Linked DNA regions of Homo sapiens: regions 2 and 3 are each linked to region 1. The links are contacts of gene promoters, found by promoter capture Hi-C in human tissues and cell types (Jung and others, 2019). All regions are on one chromosome and are shown on one strand. Each heading gives the region's core, a stretch centred on a gene start or on the middle of the fragment in contact. The rest is flanking DNA. Distances are from core to core; before and after follow the strand shown. Region 1 holds the start of CPAMD8 (C3 and PZP like alpha-2-macroglobulin domain containing 8). Region 2 holds the start of BRD4 (bromodomain containing 4). Region 3 holds the start of PIK3R2 (phosphoinositide-3-kinase regulatory subunit 2).

The links. Contacts are between HindIII fragments. The study calls those that stand out against the background at their distance.
Region 2: a contact is called between the fragment with the promoter of BRD4 here and the fragment with the promoter of CPAMD8 in region 1, in 1 of the 25 tissues and cell types used here (heart left ventricle).
Region 3: a contact is called between the fragment with the promoter of PIK3R2 here and the fragment with the promoter of CPAMD8 in region 1, in 1 of the 25 tissues and cell types used here (heart right ventricle).

Annotation. Positions count from the first base shown.
Region 1 is chr19:17,025,535-17,028,133 of GRCh38, reverse strand. It overlaps CPAMD8 (C3 and PZP like alpha-2-macroglobulin domain containing 8), which reads left to right and starts at 1,324. Exons shown (of 42, transcript NM_015692.5): 1 at 1,324-1,583. The coding sequence starts at 1,492. RefSeq lists an enhancer at 244-1,152. The HindIII fragment of the contact is 4,679 bases long and covers 1-2,599 here.
Region 2 is chr19:15,331,244-15,333,842 of GRCh38, reverse strand. BRD4 (bromodomain containing 4) reads left to right here and starts at 1,304. Exons shown (of 20, transcript NM_001379291.1): 1 at 1,304-1,553. LOC124904643 (a long non-coding RNA gene) reads right to left here and starts at 1,230. Exons shown (of 4, transcript XR_007067146.1): 1 at 1,195-1,230. RefSeq lists an enhancer at 422-1,038 and silencers at 995-1,064, 1,205-1,304, 1,535-1,764, 1,965-2,064, 2,095-2,244 and 1 more. The HindIII fragment of the contact is 25,776 bases long and covers 1-2,599 here.
Region 3 is chr19:18,151,862-18,154,460 of GRCh38, reverse strand. It overlaps PIK3R2 (phosphoinositide-3-kinase regulatory subunit 2), which reads right to left and starts at 1,298. Exons shown (of 16, transcript NM_005027.4): 1 at 1,167-1,298. RefSeq lists silencers at 428-647, 958-1,337 and enhancers at 1,448-1,727, 1,033-1,925, 2,468-2,547. The HindIII fragment of the contact is 11,749 bases long and covers 1-2,599 here.

The DNA of each region.
Region 1 (2,599 bases), core at 75-2,574:
GCAGTGGAGTAAGAACAGGGTGTTGGAGGAACTAGGCTGAGGTCTCTGCCATCAAAGCCAGAGTTTAGATTTGGTCTCAATAAACGGGAAGCCCTGGCTGGATGTGGTGGCTCACACCTGTAATCCCAGCACTTTGGGAGGCTGAGGAGGGAGGATCATTTGAGCCCAGTGCTCAAGACCAGCCTGGGCAACACAGTGCGACTCCGTTTCTAAAAAAAAATATATAAAAATTAGCTGGGTGCGGGCTTGCACCTGTAGTCCCAGCTACTCTCCAGGAGTCTGAAGCTGCAGTGAGCTGTGACTGCACCACTAAATTCCTGCCTGGGCAACAGAGCAAAACTCTGGTCTCAAAACATAAAAATAAAATGTAAAATAAACAGGGAGCCCCGAGGATTCCGGGCAGGAGGGGGTGTGGTCAGCACTGGAATTTTAGAAGAAGGGCAGTTGGTAGCTGGGGGAAGGGGGTTCCACACTGGAAGGAGGGGGTCCAGGACTTGGACATGGTATAGGATGTGCCGCCTGCCAGTGGGACCTAGGACAGCAGGACCATCACTGAGGTGGCCACACGGGGAGGGGCAGGAGGGGACACCCTGCTCTTGGAGAGAAAGGGGGTGCCCATCCACCCCTGCTGTATGAAGGGGAAAGGGGGACTCTGAGGCCCAGCGAGAGAGGGGACGGGCCCAAGGGATTTGTGGACAGTGGGGGTGGGGGAGAGGGGAGCAGAGAGCACAGATAGGGACCTGGGGCAGATGTGAGTCTGGGAGGTTCGACCCCTGGCTAGACTGTTTCCCCAAAGGGTCCTCTGCTCCTTGGGCTGTACGCACTGCACTGGGCACTAGATACAGGCCAGGGCTTAGGGCACGGCGGCGCCTGTGGGATCGGGGTTGCAGGCGGCGTCCAGACCCAGGGGCCCCTGGTGAGGGGCGGGCCCGGGGAGGGGGCCATAAGGGGCTGGCTGGGGAGGGAGGGAGGGAGAGGCCAGGGAAGGGACAGGTTCCGAGTGGACGCTGGGTGGAGAGGAGAGGGAGAGTGGGGGCGGTGGGGGGTCGGGTCCGAGGCGGGGCTGGTGGGGAGGGGGGCATCCGGGGGCGAATCCGGGTAGGGGGTGAGGAGGCGGGTTCGGAAGGAATCGGGCAGGGCCCGGGTGGGTCCGGTGAGTAAGTGAGGGGACGATCCCCGGAAGGGATCGGGGCGGGTCGGGGTCCGGAGATGGGCGGAGCAGGCGTCCCGGGAGGGTGCGCCCAGGAGCGGGGCGAGCGGGGCGAGCGGGGCGGTCCCGGAGACGAGGCGGGTCCGGGGAGGGGGCTGGCCCGGGGCTGCCCCAGCTTGGCCGGGCGCGGAGCGGGGCGCATGGCGCCGGGCGCACTGCGCGGGGGCTGCGAACAAAGGGCCCCCGGCGGCGGCGCGAGGACGGCCGCGCTCGGACCCTGGCCCTGGCCCAGCCCTGGCCCGGCCCCCTCCCCAGGCGCGGCGCCCCCCAGGAGCCGAAAAATGAGCGGCGCCCTGCTCTGGCCGTTGCTCCCGCTCCTGCTCCTGCTGCTGTCGGCGCGGGACGGCGTGCGCGCCGCGCAGCCTCAGGCCCCGTGAGTATCCTCCGGCGACAGAGGAGGTCGGTCGCCTTCTGGGGTGGGGGTCGCGGGTACTGGCTCAGAGTGTTGCAGCGACCTGCCCAAGGCCACACAGCCTCCGCGCTGGGCTGGACCTGGCCTCTTGTTCCCGAATCGTCTTGAGGAGGGGGCGCCCTAAAGTTTCCGAAGTGGCTCTGTGGAGGTACAGGGACTCCCAAAAGCTAAAGGTGCTGAGGTCAGCTCCCCCCGCCCCACCTCGCCCCCTTCGTGTGACCCGGGCTGTCATCATGGGTGGCGATTTCCAGTTGTCCAAGGTATGAAGGTAAGAGGAGCGTCTTGGCTGAGAAGTGGGAGGAGAGTGCGAAGGGGCACTTTCCCGTGGGTGGGCGTGGTGAGGGAGGAGGAAGTGTTTGTTTTGCTTCTACATTTTTCTAGAGGTTTGCTTGCAGGCTTCTGGTGGGTTGACAGCGGGGAGAAGGTGAATTAACTAACTGCTGGGGAGTACTGCTAAGTTGGCTTCACAGAGAATATTTCTAAACCTGGCAAGTTCGGGTGAGCTCTGCAGGGCTGCGGGTTCAGGGGGGCTGCCCTGGTCTGCACAAGACCAGCCTTTTAGTCCAGCTGGGCGTTTAGAAGGCGGCTTGTTCAAGCAGCCCTTGTTTAGGAGTTTCCAGAAAACTGGTAAGCAGTGAGACTAGGTGGGTGTCGTTATTTGCAGTGAGTAGTTGGTCCTTGCTGGTCACAGTTTTAAAAGCAAGACAGTCTACTGCGCTCTGAGCATCCAGACTTCCCTCTCCTAGGCTTCGTGAAATCGGAACCCTACAAATTTTCATCCTAATGCTTCTTTCAAAGCTGGCATCCCTTAGAATAGTGGTTCTCAGCCCTGGGGGGGATTTTTGTCTCCCTGAGGCCGCTGGGAAATGTCTGGAGGTATTTTTGGTTGTCACAAATAGGGAGAGGCATTTGGTGTTGGCATTAAGTGGGTGCAGGCCAGGAATGCTGGTAAACAGCTTTCGATGTGCAGGTCAGCT
Region 2 (2,599 bases), core at 55-2,554, 1.7 Mb after region 1:
CGCCACCACACCCGGCTAATTTTTTTTTTTTTTTTTTGAGACGGAGTCTCGCTCTGTCGCACAGGCTGGAGTGCAGGGGCGCGATCTCCGCTCACAGCAAGCTCCGCCTCCCGGGTTCACGCCATTCTCCTGCCTCAGTCTCTCGAGTAGCTGGGACTACAGGCGCCCACCACCACACCCGGCTAATTTTTTGTATTTTTAGTAGAGACGGGGTTTCACCGTCTTAGCCAGGATGGTCTCGATCTCCTTACCTCGTGATCTGCCCGCCTCCCAAAGTGCTGGGATTACAGGCGTGAGCCACTGCGCCCGGCCCACACGGGGCTAATTTTTGTATTTTTAGTAGAGGCGAGGTTTCACTCTGTTGGCTAGGATGGTCTCCAACCCCTGGCCTCAAGCCAACCTCCTGCCTCTGCCTCCCAAAGTGCTGAGATTACAGGTGTGAGCCACCGAGCCTGGTCTGACTTGGGGTTGAGTCTTAAGGATGGGAAGGAGCTGGGCGCGGTGGCTCACGCCTGTAATACTAGCACTTTGGGAGGTCGAGGCAGGAGGATCGCTTGAGTCCAGGAGACAGAGACCAGCCTGGCCAACATCGTGAGATCCCATCTCTACAAAAAATAGTTAGCTGGGTGTGGTGGTGCACACCTGTAGTCCCAGCTACTTGGGAGGCTGAAGCAGGAGGATCGCTTGAGGCCAGCAGGTTGAGGCTGCAGTGAGCTATGACTGCACTACTGCACTCCAGCCTGGGGGACAGAGCAAGACCATGTCCCTTTTTTTAAAAAGGTGGGTTGGAAGAAGATCAACAGGGGGGCATAAGAGGAGAAAGGTGCTACCTCCCTGCCCAGGGGCAGCCAAGGAGGATCCGCCTCGGCCTTGCTCGCAGCCTCCTCTCACCTCCTTTCCTCCACTTCACCCCAGCCCCGGCGCCCCCATCGCAGCTCTCTCGCCTCAGCCTCCCTACCTGGGGTCCCCCCTTAGGGCTCTCTCCTCCGCCTCCTCCATCAGTCTGTGGGGTCCCTCCTCACCATCCTCCCTCCCTGTGAGGGTCTGTCTTCAGACCTTTCTTAGTATTTTGGATGTCTCTCTCAGCCTTCAGATCTTTTCCCGCAGGCCCAGCCTGCAGTCCGCCCGTTTCCCCCAGCCCGCTCCTTCGCTCTGCGGGGTCTCCTCCCTCAGTCCGCGGTATCCCCCACTCACCTCGCAGCCACTGTCTCTCCAGAGCTCGTTCGCGCTGGGCGCGGGGGCGGGGCGCGCACACCGGGCGGCGGCGGCGCGGGGCCGCGCGCGCAGCGTGCGCGGTGACGTCAGTGCGCTGGCGGCGGCGGCGGCGGCGGCGGCGGCGGCTGGGCTGTTTGTTCTGGTCTCCCGCAGCCGAGGAGCCGAAGCAGTGGCGGCGGCAGCGGCTGCGGCGGCTGCCGGCGGTGCCCGCGGGCGAGCGCGGCCTGTGAGCTCGGCAGAGCGGCGGGCGGGCCCCGGCGCCGCGCAGGCAGCTCGGGGAGGGGGCGGCGGCAGCGGGCGGACGGCCGGCGGGGGCGGCGTGCGGCCTAGCGTCTCAGGTGAGGACTGGTGCCCTTTGGGGCGGCGGACGACACTGGGCGGCTGGCGGAGGCTCGCGGCGCGGTCCGCGTAACCTGCATTGCGTAATGGGGCCGGGGCGCCGCCACCTACGCCATCCGCGCGGCGCGGGGGCGGGGAGGCCGGGGCTACGCGGGCTCGGGCCTGCGGGCCTCCCGCGCCGTTCGTTCCGGGCCGGGGCGGCCTGCGCCGTTGGTGTCGGGGCGGCGGGGTCGCTCGCGGCTGTCCTGCCTTTGGTGCCGTCGGACCCGGGCTTGGGCTGGCCGGCGGGGCGCGGGTGGGGGGCGCGGGCGCCGCGGCGGGGCCGGCGGTCGGGGGCGGGCGGGGGGCGGGCCGAGGCGCCCGGCACTTCCTGCCGCCGCCATTTTGTTAAGTGAGGAGGAGGAGGAGGAGGAGGAAGCGGCCGCCGCGGGGTCCGCGGCGCGCCCGGCCCGGGTAAGTCCCGGCCTGGCGCGGGGGCCGCGAGCGCAGCTGTCCCGGTCCGCGGTCCTCTAGGCGGGCTCGGCCGCGGCGCTCACGTGGGCCGGGGCCGGCGCGCTCTCCTTCTGGCACCCAGGTCGTTTTGCCTGGGCCGGGGCAGCGCGCCCCCACCCCCATCTCTTCACCTTCCCGGCGGTCCCCGGAGTGCTGCGGAGAAAGGGGCAGGTCCCCTGCGGAGGGAGGTGGCTGCGGCTGCACGCCGGTCTGAGGCCAGGCCTCAGGGCGGGAGCGGTGCCCTGGAGGCGAGCTTGGCCCGCTTGACGCACCCACTCTCAGCCTGGCAGCCCCTTGCTGGGCGCTTTGTTTTGCTCGGTCCGTGCTCGCCGGCGTCCTTGCAACGGCCTATTTTATTTGCAGTGTTGTGTGGTGGTGGTGATTGTGGTGATTTGGGGTGGGGATGTGGGGGAGTTGTGATTCAGCGAAATAAAATGATCCCCCTCCTCCCAAACGGAAATAGCATGGCTTCACTCGGCTGAGATGCCCCCAAGGCTTGGGTTTGCTTGAAGATGGGAAACCCCACTCTGTTGTAGTGGACGGTGTAAATACT
Region 3 (2,599 bases), core at 49-2,548, 1.1 Mb before region 1:
GGAGGAGTGAGTGGGCTGGCAGGTAGCTCCAGCCTGGGGCCCAGAGTAGGCACAAAATGCAGATGGGGAGGTGCTTAGAAGGAACCTTAGCCCCAGGCAGGGACAGGGAGCCAGGAGAAGGTGGGGGTACTGCAGCTGAGGAGGAGGGGAGGCTGCCGGCAGCAGGGCATTGATTATTCCCCAGGAGTCCCAGCCTGGGGAGGCGGAGATAGGCACACATTCCCAGCCTAGCCCTGCGGGTTCAGACGCCCTGTGATGGACAGGGCTAGGGTCGGGGGATGGACGTGCTGTTCTAGAGAATGGATCATCACAGCGGATAGGAAGGCGCGACAGGCAGACGGAACGGCACATGCAAAGCCTTGGCAGTGGGTTAAGTTGCTTGTCAAGGATTCAGGGTGGCTATAAGGATAGGTGCTATCCACCAAGAGGCCCGAGTGTCAGGTGGAGGCTCTGAGCATCCTTCAGTCACGGGGAACCCCAAGAGGTGTCCGAGCAGGGCGGAGGGGCGCCACATTCTCGGGTGCCCAATTTACCCATTCCTAGGCCTCTGTTACCCTCATTCTACAGGTGGGGAAACTGAGGCCCCGAGAGGGGATGCCCAGAAAACCGCCTGGATCTGCCTGCCAGCCCGCCCCCACGCCCCGGTGTGCGCGCCCCGGGAGCAGCGCTCCCCGAATCCGGGAGGCGGGAGGGGCGGGGCAGGCAGGGCTGGGGGCTCCGCGGGTGAAGGCAGGGCCTGAGCGCTCACACAGACGCGCACTTGGGTCTGCGTGGACCCGGCCACCCGGCTAGGGGACCGGAAGTGGGTTCGACCCCCGGCCCTCCCGCACCCCATTCTGCCCCGCACAATGCCTGGGCGCCCCTCGGTACTATTCGAAGCCCCATTCCAGGCAGGGCCTCCCTTCATTTGGGGCCTCGGCTCCAGTCCGGTATCTTGGACGCGGGGAGTCTCTCCCCATTCTGCCCCGACCGTCCCAAGGAGGCTGCACCGCTGCGGAGCCGAGCCCGAGGCCCCCCCTTGCCTGCGGCCCCCCCAGTTCCCGCGGGGCCCGACGCAGCCTGGCGCTTGCGTTCTGGCTTCCACCGGGGCCCGGCACTGCCCCCGGGCGCCCCGCATTTAAGCACACTCCCAGCCGCCCCCGCCACGAGGGCCAGTCAGGACTCACCTGGTCGCGGCCGCCACCGCCGCCGCAGCCGCCGTCACACCAAGCCAAGCCCGCCCCGTGGCTCCACCGCGGCCACCGTCGCCGCAGCCGCGGGATCCCCGCCTCCGCCGCCGCCACGGTTCCGAGCGGCCTGGCCCGCCCCCGGCGGAAATGCCCGAGCGCATTCGAGCCGGGCGGATGAACCGAGGCCGAGGCGGAGCCTGAGGTAAGGGGGCACCCGAGTGTTTCCGGAAGTAGCCGAACGTAATCCCGCGGGACTGGTGGACTAGAGGGTGCCCCCGAGACAGCCGAGCGTTTCCAGAGGTAGCCGAGTGCAATCGGGTCGGCGAGGGATCCGAGACTGGGCTCGGCTGGGCTTAGAGACGCCCGAGCGCTTTCGGAAATGGCCGAACACTCTCTACGGCCGCACTGGCACAACTGAGGCTGATCCCCAAGACCGCGGAGCGTTTCTGGAAATAACCGAATGTGCTCAGTGCCCAATGGAGGCCTTGGGAGTTTAGACCCAGAGGCGACCGCCAGCTTATGGGAATTACTGAAGCATAGATGGTTCCAGGGGACAAATGAGGCGTTCTCAAGCTCAGCAAACAGGGGGCAGTAGAGTGGGGAAAGGGCCTGCCGCAAAAAGCAGAAGTCGGAGAAAGCCAGGGTTGAAGGAGTTTCCATGGCAACCCAGAGCGTCCGGAAACAGCCAACGATCTCGACCCCTACGGGCACTAGAATTTAGCGGACTTGAGCCTAGATGCCGACGGTTTCCGGAAATAGCCGAACGCACTCGGAGATGGGGCTGTAGCCAAGAGTGTTTGCATGCCGGCTGAGCGCCCCGGAAGTAACGGATTGCTCTAGGGCTGGGCCGGGTTCGGCTAGAGGGAGTTTTATGGCAGAGCGCAAGCTAAGACCAGGATAGAAAGGACGCGACGATTGCTTATTTTGTTATTATTTTTTGAGACGGAGTTTCGCTCTTGTTGCCCAGGCTGGAGTGCAATGGCGCTATCTCGGCTCGCCGCAACCTCCACCTCCCGAGTTCAAGCGATTCTCCTGCCTCAGCCTCCCGAGCAGCTGGGATTACAGGCATGCGCCACCACGCCCGGCTAATTTTGTATTTTTAGTAGAGACGGGGTTTCTCCATGTTGGTCAGGGTGGTTTGGAACTCCCGACCTCAGGAGATCCGCCCGCCTTGGCCTTCCAAAGTGCTGGGATTACAGGCGTGAGCCACCGCGCCCCGCCGCTTATTTATTTTATTAACATAGCCCAGGGCGCCCAGGAGGTCGAGGCTGCAATGTGCCGTGATTGCGCCACTGTACTCCAACCTGGGTTACAGAGCGAGACCTTGTCTCAAAAACATAAAAATAAAAAACATAGCTCAGGGCCCAGATGTCTGGAGGAAGCTTTTAAAGGCAGGGCTATGATGGAGTACTCGCAGGGAGAGGGTAGCA